Linked DNA regions of Homo sapiens: region 1 is linked to region 2. Evidence: promoter capture Hi-C in 16 types of primary human blood cells and fetal thymus (Javierre and others, 2016). All regions are on one chromosome and are shown on one strand. The core of a region is centred on a gene start or on the middle of the fragment in contact, and the rest is flanking DNA. Distances in the headings are between cores, read along the strand shown. Region 1 holds the start of EXOC8 (exocyst complex component 8). Region 2 holds the start of FAM89A (family with sequence similarity 89 member A).

The links. The method cuts DNA at HindIII sites, captures the fragments that hold promoters and counts their contacts. A CHiCAGO score of 5 or more calls a contact.
Region 1: a fragment that was not itself captured here is called in contact with the fragment with the promoter of FAM89A in region 2 in 1 of 17 cell types (activated CD4 T cells); the score reaches 7.1 in activated CD4 T cells.

The regions. Positions count from the first base shown.
Region 1 is chr1:231,337,327-231,341,909 of GRCh38, forward strand. It overlaps EXOC8 (exocyst complex component 8), which reads right to left and starts at 526. Exons shown (of 1, transcript NM_175876.5): 1 at 1-526. The coding sequence starts at 419. SPRTN (SprT-like N-terminal domain) reads left to right here and starts at 967. Exons shown (of 5, transcript NM_032018.7): 1 at 967-1,278; 2 at 2,443-2,542. The coding sequence starts at 1,058. RefSeq lists enhancers at 1-703, 251-300, 704-1,578, 981-1,180, 1,579-2,453 and 1 more and silencers at 1-130, 2,202-2,251. The HindIII fragment of the contact is 1,889 bases long and covers 773-2,661 here.
Region 2 is chr1:231,038,507-231,042,888 of GRCh38, forward strand. It overlaps FAM89A (family with sequence similarity 89 member A), which reads right to left and starts at 1,748. Exons shown (of 2, transcript NM_198552.3): 1 at 1,415-1,748. The coding sequence starts at 1,705. RefSeq lists an enhancer at 426-1,107 and silencers at 770-849, 1,490-1,539, 1,800-1,909. The HindIII fragment of the contact is 3,223 bases long and covers 131-3,353 here.

The sequences.
Region 1 (4,583 bases), core at 467-2,966, 300 kb after region 2:
AAAAAGCCGGCCTGGCCTCGGAGGTGGTCTCGGCCCCCCGCCCCACCGACTCCCTCCTCCCCTCCAGAGGCGGCGGCGGCTCCGGCGGCAGCAGCGGCAGGCAGCAACGTAAGCGGGATGCTCTCCAGGCTGCTTTTCTGCTCGGTCAGCAAATGGCTGAGCTGGTACATCTCGCTCTCCAGGTAGGAGATCTCGCGGGCCGTCTCTATGAACTGCCGGTAGTTCTGGTAGACGTTGCGCTTCAGGTTCTGCGCCGTCTCCTCCGCCAGCGCCTGGATGCGCTGCCGGTGCTCCTGGAGGTCCCGGTCCCCATCCGACTGCTGCGAGAGCTGCTTCACGTACAGCCGCGCCTCAAAACCCCCTGACTCCAGCTGCCGACGCAGGCGGCTCGCCCCACTGTCCGACATCGCCATCGCCATTTCTCTCCGGGTCTCACGCACTCACTGTCACTATCGGCGCCGCAGCCGCCGCGGCTGTCTAGACCCACCCAAGGCCAACCGAGCTCCTGGGCTGAGGAAGCAGGAATGGGAACGAGACGAGTACGCCTGCGCCGGGTCTGAGCGTCAGACACTGCGCCTGCGCAAGTGGGCCGAGCGCAGACATTGCGCCTGCGCAGCAATGCCATCGGTTAAAGCGCATGCGCAAGATGAGCTATTGCGGAAGTGAGGGGAGGGAGAGGCCGAGAGAAATTTCGGTACTGCGCATGAACCGAGCGTGACGTTGAGGTTTGAAATAACCGGCAAAGAGTAAAGGCTGAAACTAGCTTCCTGAAAGCTTCGTAGGGCCCGAGCCCTGTGAGCCCAGGTTCTGCGCCCACTAGGAGGTGTCATGCTGACTGCTTTTTTTAAAGCCCTAGAATCTTGGCTTCGGCGTTTGGGGTAAGCTCCGTTCTCGTTCTCAAGCGCGTTTCCGCGAACTCTCGCGGGATTGACGGGCCGTCTCGAGAGCCGGCATCTCCTAGGAGCTAGTCCTGGTCCTCGGCTAGGCGGCTTGGGGTCGCGGCGTAACTGGGGAGCCAGCCTGACGCCGGCGGACCCCGCCTGTGATCCTGGCAACGATGGATGATGACTTGATGTTGGCACTGCGGCTTCAGGAGGAGTGGAACTTGCAGGAGGCGGAGCGCGATCATGCCCAGGAGTCCCTGTCGCTAGTGGACGCGTCGTGGGAGTTGGTGGACCCCACACCGGACTTGCAGGCACTGTTTGTTCAGTTTAACGACCAATTCTTCTGGGGCCAGCTGGAGGCCGTCGAGGTGAAGTGGAGCGTGCGAATGACCCTGTGAGTTCCGAGCCCCGCTGGGGAAAGAGGCGGGACTGGCAGCTTTCCTGCAGCCCCCGGCCCTGGTTTTCTCTCCTTTCTCTAGTCCGACGGTCCCAGGGGGCGTTAAATGAGGGGAGTCTGGTTTTGGACCTGGCAATTCCTGCCTCGGCGTGTTTCTGTCTTCCTTACCTTTTCTCCCACTCGAACAATAAGAAAGCTGTGTAGACCACACCGCCACGGTTGGACTCAGGGCCGTAACAAAAAAGAGATTTTTATTTGAATCTCACTTCACTTGAAAATAACAAGTTCCTGATTTGCCTTATGATAGTGCTGTAGGACCCAGAAGGGAGAAGCAACCAAATCTGCACCTAAGAAAGTGCTGAGGACGCAGAGTAACTGCCAAAGGATGTGTGTTCTCCTCCTCTATTCCCGTTAGGAAACCCACTTTAGTTAGCTCGTGTGTTGCATTGGGGATCTTCAGTGATGCTTTTAAAACGATTCTTTTTCTACACGCTAAATTTCAGAAATCCCTATTTGAAATAATAATCTACTCCTGCACGTGAACAGGGTTAAGTTTAAGATACAGTTGTATCCCAGCATGCTTGTTTTTGAGTTGATAGAAAACAACCTACTGTCAAACAAATTAAGATATGATATTAAATTGTGTTTAAAGTACCAATTTCCTTTATACAGGCGTCTGTTATGATTTTGGAGATATGCTACTGGAGATATCTGCTTGTTAATAACACCGAACTGTAACTTGTCGGAAGGAGACTGGGAGTAGCAGAATAGGATTGCCTTTGAGCTGTTGCAGCCTAGCTAGGGCAAGGGGAGCTGCAGTTGGGCCATGTGGTCCGCATCGTATTCCACTAGGTCCCCGTTGTACACCAGGTACGGTCCTGGCGTCTCTAGCAGGTGCCTGCAGCCTTCCACCTTCTCAAGCAGGGTGGTGAGAGCACGCTGCTTTCCTTCCTTGCCCGGCGGGGATCGGAGCCATCGCGGGAGGCGCCCGCGGGGGTTGTAACTAATTAATTAGGTGAAATGCAAGTATCTGCTAACCAAGGGGGGTATACTTTCATGAAAGCCATCTGCCAACTGAGTTAGTGTGAACTGCCCAAGAATGTGTAAGGACTTGGGCATATTTGGCCAATGTAACACATTTTTATGGTGATTGTTTTCTAGGTGTGCTGGGATATGCAGCTATGAAGGGAAGGGTGGAATGTGTTCCATCCGTCTCAGCGAACCCCTTTTGAAGTTGAGGCCAAGAAAGGATCTTGTAGAGGTATTTTTCGTGTAAACTTGCTTCCTAGCGCAGTAATTTACAAATACTTGTCAATGATTTAGACTGCTGTGAATTCGCCTGTATGTATCGTTAAAAAAAGTCACTTTGCCCTCAGTGAAAGCTTGAATTATGGGGCAAACAATAATGAACACCTTATGTTTTTTATAGTGCTTCATAGTAAAAAAAAAAAAAACAAAAAAAAGGCTTCTAGGGGCCGGGCACGCTGGCTCACGCCTGTAATCCCGACACTTTGGGAGGCCGAGGCGGGCGGATCACGAGGTCAGAAGATCAAAAACATCCTAGCCAACACGGTGAAACCCCGTCTCTACAAAAAAAAAAATACAGAAAATTAGCCGGGCGTGGTGGCCGGCGCCTGTAGTCCCAGCTACTCGGGAGGCTGAGGCAGGAGAATGGCATGAACTGAGGAGGCGGAGCTTGCAATGAGCCGAGATCGCGCCACTGCACTCCAGCCTGGGTGACAGAGCAAGACTCTGTCTCAAAAAAATAAAAGCCTTCTAGGTATATTATCTGTTTTGATTTTACAACAGCCCTGTTTATGTTCATGTGTTGCTGTTTTCATTTTTATGAGTAAAGAAATTAAGGTTCAGAGAGGTTAAGTAACTGGCTTAAGTTACTTATTTAGAAACAGAGAAAACAGGATCCACATGTTCCTGTTGAGAAACACAAATTTTGATTCTCCTCAGTTGGGCTGCAACACTGCTGTGCTCTCAGGACACCTAGCTGAGCTGGCAGCACAAACCAGTGTGAGGGCACGCTTCACATTTAGAGCTGGTACTTACTTCTGCTAGCAGAATGGAGCAGTGGGAGCTGAGGCAGGAGGATCTCTTGAACCCGGGAGGCGGAGGTTGCAGTGAGCCGAGACCGTACCATTGCATTCCAGCCTGGGCAACAAGAGCGAAACTCTGTCTCAAAAAAAAAAAGAAAGAATTATCTGTACAAAAGAGCACAGTGGTAGTTTCTGAGCATGGGGTGGGAAGCATGTTAAAACATGCTTGGAGATGAGAGATGCTGTTTTTAAGGATAATAAAAGGCAATGGATTACATAACAGTGTGAATATACTCAACACTGAACTGTACACATAAAAATGGGTAAGTTGGGGAATTTTGTTAATTTTTTTTACCACAGTTTGTTTAAAAAGTAGCTACTAAATGTAAAGTGGTACAGTAGAAATACTTGATTAATGAAAAAGAACAGAGCTCAGATGATAAAGAGAAAGGTAGGTGTAAACAAAATATCAGTTAAATGTAAGTGGACTAAACACTCCATTAAATACATGGAATGGCATGCTAGATTAAAAGAGACATGCTTACAGTAAAGACACACTTATTTTAAGTTTAAAAGGATGAGGAAAAGTAATCATCCAAACACTTAAAAGCAGAAAACTATTGTGGCTATAAGGTTGAGTACTCATTATCCAAAGTGGGACCAGAAGTGTTTCAGATTTTTTTTTTTTTTACTTTGGAATATTTGCATTATACTTACTGGTTGAGCTTCCCTAATCCAAAAGTCCCAAATCTGAAATGGCTTTAGTGAGCATTTCCTTAGAACTTAACCTTTAATCATCTTGTAAGTGCTCAAAAAGTTTTAGATTTTGGAGCATTTCAGATTTTGGATTGTCAAATTAGGGATGTTCAACCAGTATTAGTATCAGACTAAAGACTTCAAGGGAAGAAGTTTTACTAGAGGAAAAGTGGGATATTTTATAATAATAAAATAATCTATTAAGCAACAATACATAATCTCTCCAAAAGTAATAACATAACTTTAAATTTTATGAGGCATAAATTAGCAGAAGCAAAAAGAATATACAATCAGGCTGGGTGCGGTGGCTCACGCCCATAATCCCAGCACTTTGGGAAGCTGAGACAGGCGGATCACTTGAGGCCAGGAGTTTGAGACCAGCCTGACCAACATGGTGAAACCCCGTCTCTACTAAAAATACAAAAATTAGCTGCGTGTGGTGACACAGCCTGTAGTACCAGCTACTCAGGAGGCTGACGCACAAGAATCGCATGAACT
Region 2 (4,382 bases), core at 498-2,997:
GACTGTAAACACACTACGTGTAGATTTATCTAATTAAAATGCAGTTCACCAGCTGTGTGATGCTTATGTCAATGAATGTTTTTTAATAAATTAAAAACGGTTGGCTTGGAATTTAAGTGGTTCTGTAAGAAGCTTAGAAAATCTTTTCAGTGAGAATTGGAAATCACTTCAATGCCAGCTACAGAGTAGGAAGACAATATCTCTTTGATTAAAAGTGTTAAGGCTGCTTTCTGAATTCAATTAAGTCTTAGTTTTCAGAACAGATAATGCTCCTGAAAAAAAAGTATGCATACCCTGAATTTTTCTAAACAATATCTTAAATGCACTAGATACATATTTAAAAGATTCCTATAACAATTTATTTTTTGGCAAATTTAGTTTTGGGAAAAGGCAGCTTTCCTAATGTTAGATTTCTTAACAATTTACCTATAGGGAAAGGAGACAACCTGGACGAGGTGAATGGAAAGGGAGGCTTTTAAAACGAGGGGATTGGGAGGAGGTGATGGGGGCCAGTAAGATGGTAGAAAAGAGGAAAAGTTTTTGATTTCTTCTTGCCTGGCCTACGCCTGGCCGAGAAAGCTGGGGAAAGACTCGCTGTTGCCTAAATCCCTGCCCTTGTCCTACTTTTAGCGTCACCCTAAATCATGTGTGTTCTGGTCCACAAACAGCTAATGTACTTCCCAAGCACAGAGAAACACTGAGCCCATGGTATGGAGCTTAGACACAAGGCGAAGAACTCACATGGACAGCACCCAGACCGGGAGGACAGCCACCTCCCACCTTTCTCAAGAGGGTTTGGGCAATCAGCTTCGCGGGGCTGAGGGACCCGGCCGCCTCCCTCGCCCGGGGTGCGCGTCTGCTTTCGCAGCCATCTGTGCGCCGGGGCCATCCCGCGGTAATCGGATCACGGACGCGCGGCCTGGGGCGCCGGAAAGGGGGCCGGGCTGTTCCAATCTGCTGTCTACACTGGCGGCGGACAAAAGTTGTCCTCTTCGTGGTAGGAAAACGCAATCGCGTTAATCCGTTGGGCCGCTGTGAAAGCCTTTCCCCCACCGGGAAGGTCTGTTTCACTCGGGGAGAGGTGACAAGGCCGCCCCCGCCCCCAGGCCAGGCACGAACCCCGCACAGCGCTTCCGGGCGCCCAGGTTTCCGAGCCAGCGGGGCCGGACTGAGGGCGCCGGGCATAAGAAAGCCGCCCTCTGCGCGCGGGGCTCTCCCGCGGGGGTTCCAATCGTGGGCACGGAGCACGCGAGAAAAATGGGGGTCGTTGGGAGGACGGCGCCGGCGCCTGGGGCGGAGGAGCCCGAAAGGGCGGGTGGGCGCGGGGACTTCCGGACAGAGCGCGGTCCCCGCGAACTTTCCCGGGACGGCGAGCCCGGCCGGGAAGAGCCCCAGCTCGCGGAGCCCCACTCACCATCTCTTTGCGGAGCAGCGCCAGAGCGGCGTCCAGGTTGGGAGGCTTGGCGGGCAGCGCTGCCGCCCGGGCCCCGCCGCCGCCCGGGCCCCCGCGGCTCAGCTCGTCCTGGATGCGCGACTTCTGCGCGTACAGCCGCTCCAGGTGCCGCCAGCCCCCAGACGCGCCGCCGCCCGACGCCGAGTGCAGCAGCCCGCTCAAGCTCTTTGGCAGCGGGGGCAGCCCGTCCACCCGCAGCCCCCGGACCGCGCCGTTGCCCGCGGCCCCGGGCGCCGCCCGGGCCCCACTCATCGCGCCGCGGCCCGGCCACGCGCCTGCCCCGCTGCAGCGAACCAAGGCTTTCCCCCGGCCCGCCCCCTTCCCGGCGGTGCCCCGCCCACTTCCCCTCCCGCGCCACGCCCCCCCGGCCCCGCCCCCTCTCCTCGAGGCCCCTGCGCGGGCCCCGGGTCCGGGTGGCGTCCGCGTCCAGCAGCCGGGCTCGCCTCCACCCGGGTCTCCTCCTCCCTCGCGCCCCTCCAGCGCCCTAATTCATCTCCAACTCCGCGTGACTACCCTCTAACCCCCCGACTCACCTCCAGCCCCGTCACGAACCCTTCTGTGCCACTCCCTAGCTCCGAACCTACTAAGCCCCCCGCGACCCGCAGCTTCCCGGTTCACCCCCATCTCTGTCCCCACCTCCTCTGAACCACCTCCCAGCTTCCCGGCTCACCCCTAGCTCCGAACCCTCTCACCCGCGCCACCCCGAACCCCAGCTTCCCGGCTCACCCGCATCTCTGTCCCCACCTCCTCTGTGCCAACCCCCAGCTTCCCGGCTCACCCCCAGTTCCGCCCCCACGCCCTCTGTGCCACCCTCAGCTCACTGGCTCACCCTCAGCTCCGAACCCACTCACCCCCCACCCCAGGCTTCCGGATCACCCCCATCTCTGCTCCCACCTCCTCTGTGCCACCCCCAGTTCACTGGCTCGCCCCCAGCCCCGTCTCCACTCCCTCTGTCCCACCCCTCAACGCCCGCTCACCTCCAACCCGGCTCCAGACTTCCCCCTTACCTGCCAGCGCTCCTCAGCTCCTTGCCTCACCGATCCCTGCCCTGCCCAGGGGGCGGCCCAGCTTCAGATCCCACGAAGCAGGCCGTTGCAGGGGGTGGGGGTACCGAGGCTCTGGCTCACAACCGGCAGGACGTCGAGGGCAGGAGGCCTGGCTCTGGTCCCAGGACCCCCGGCCCTCCCCGAGGGCGGAATCCAGCCCGCCTCCTGCTGCCTCCCACTCGCCGCGGGGGGCGGCTGGGGGCCCCAGACCCGGGCAGGTCGCTCCTTGCCGCCGGGCGCGCTGGCCTTCTCAGCACGGCCTTGTCCAGCAGTACCCGCAGCAGTCAGCAAGAACGCCAGACCCACTTTTGAAACTTCAAAACACTAGTAAACATGCCTTTCATTCTGGCCATAAACACAAGAGTAACTCTAAGTGGAAATGTCAGGAAACCAGAGAAAGGGATTAAATCTCGGAAATTATCCATCAGCTCAGGCAAAAATAAACACGACGCACACCTCAGAGGAAAAGAGAAGAGAGAGAGAGACTCTGCCCCTCCCAGGAAAAGTAAAAATGACAGGCAGTTATAACCAGATTAGAGATAGAAAAGATCAAGAAGTAAACGCTACAGCCCAACCGCAGATTAAAAACTAATGCAGTGTATAGATTGGATAACTTTAATGCCCATTCATTATTGGCTTTAATTATAAAGGGATTTAATTTTCTAGCTACATTCAAGGGGATCAAAATTATAAAGTGTTCTGAGCACTTCAGACACCCAACATAAAAGAGCCCTGCACTTTGGGTTGTTTTATACCCTTTACCACCTCCTAGAGCCCACCCCAGAAGCAGTGTCTTTGAAATTGGCACAATATTCTCCCTGGACGGTTGCAAGTGGGTGAGACTGATATGAAGAAGCTTTAGTGCAGGCGGTGTGATTGACAGCACCCAGGCTTCCCACCCCACCCACTGCCCAGAATTTTCCGCCTCTTCACTGTGCCTCACCTTCTACTAATTACCTAGTCACATTTCTGGATGTCAGGTATTTATTCATTCACTTATGTAAACGGTGGGTGTCTTCAGGAGAGTGACCAGTCTGCCTGTGTGGGAGTAAGGGAGAGGAAGGGGTGGGAAGCATTTTGACATTCGGTTCACACCTTAGCATGAATTTTTTTTTTTTTATGAGACAGTCTATCACTCAAGCTAGAGTGCAGTGGCGTGATCTCAGCTCACTGCAACCTCTGCCTCCTGGGTCAAGCAATTCTCCTGTCTCTGCCTCCCAAGTAGCTGGAATTACAGGCATGTGCCACGACGCCCGACTAATTTTTGTATTTTTAGTAGAAATGGGGTTTCACGATGTTGGCCAGGCTGGTCTCGAACTCCTGACCTCAGGTGATCCACCCACCTCGGCCTCCCAAAGTGCTGGGATTACAGGTGTGAGCCATCGCGCCCAGCCTGCATGAATTTCTTTAATTTCACTGGTTACAATGCAGTCTCACCTGTAGTACCTAGCAGAAATCACTCAAGGTAGGTGATAGGAGATTCAGCTATGTGATGGTGAAATAAGAAAAGAAATCACTTTGAAGTATCGGGGCACTGAAAGCATTTTAAAGCACATACTTCAGAGAATTACGGATTACAGAAGGAAAAGGAGGTTAGGGTCAGCTAGACAGCAGCATGAGGTCCGTGGTGTCAGGACTCGAGAAAAGAGGCACAACTTAGACAATGCCAACCTTACCAATTTTTTTTTTCTTTTTTGAGATGGAGTCTCACTCTGTCGCCCAAGCTGGAGTGCAGTGGCGCGATCTTGGCTCACTGCAACCTCCACCTCTCGGGTTCAAGCAATTCTCCGCCTCAGCCTCCCAAGTAGCTGGGATTACAGGCACCCGCCACCATACCCATCACCATCTTGGCCAGGCTGGTCTTGAACTCCTGACCTCACGAT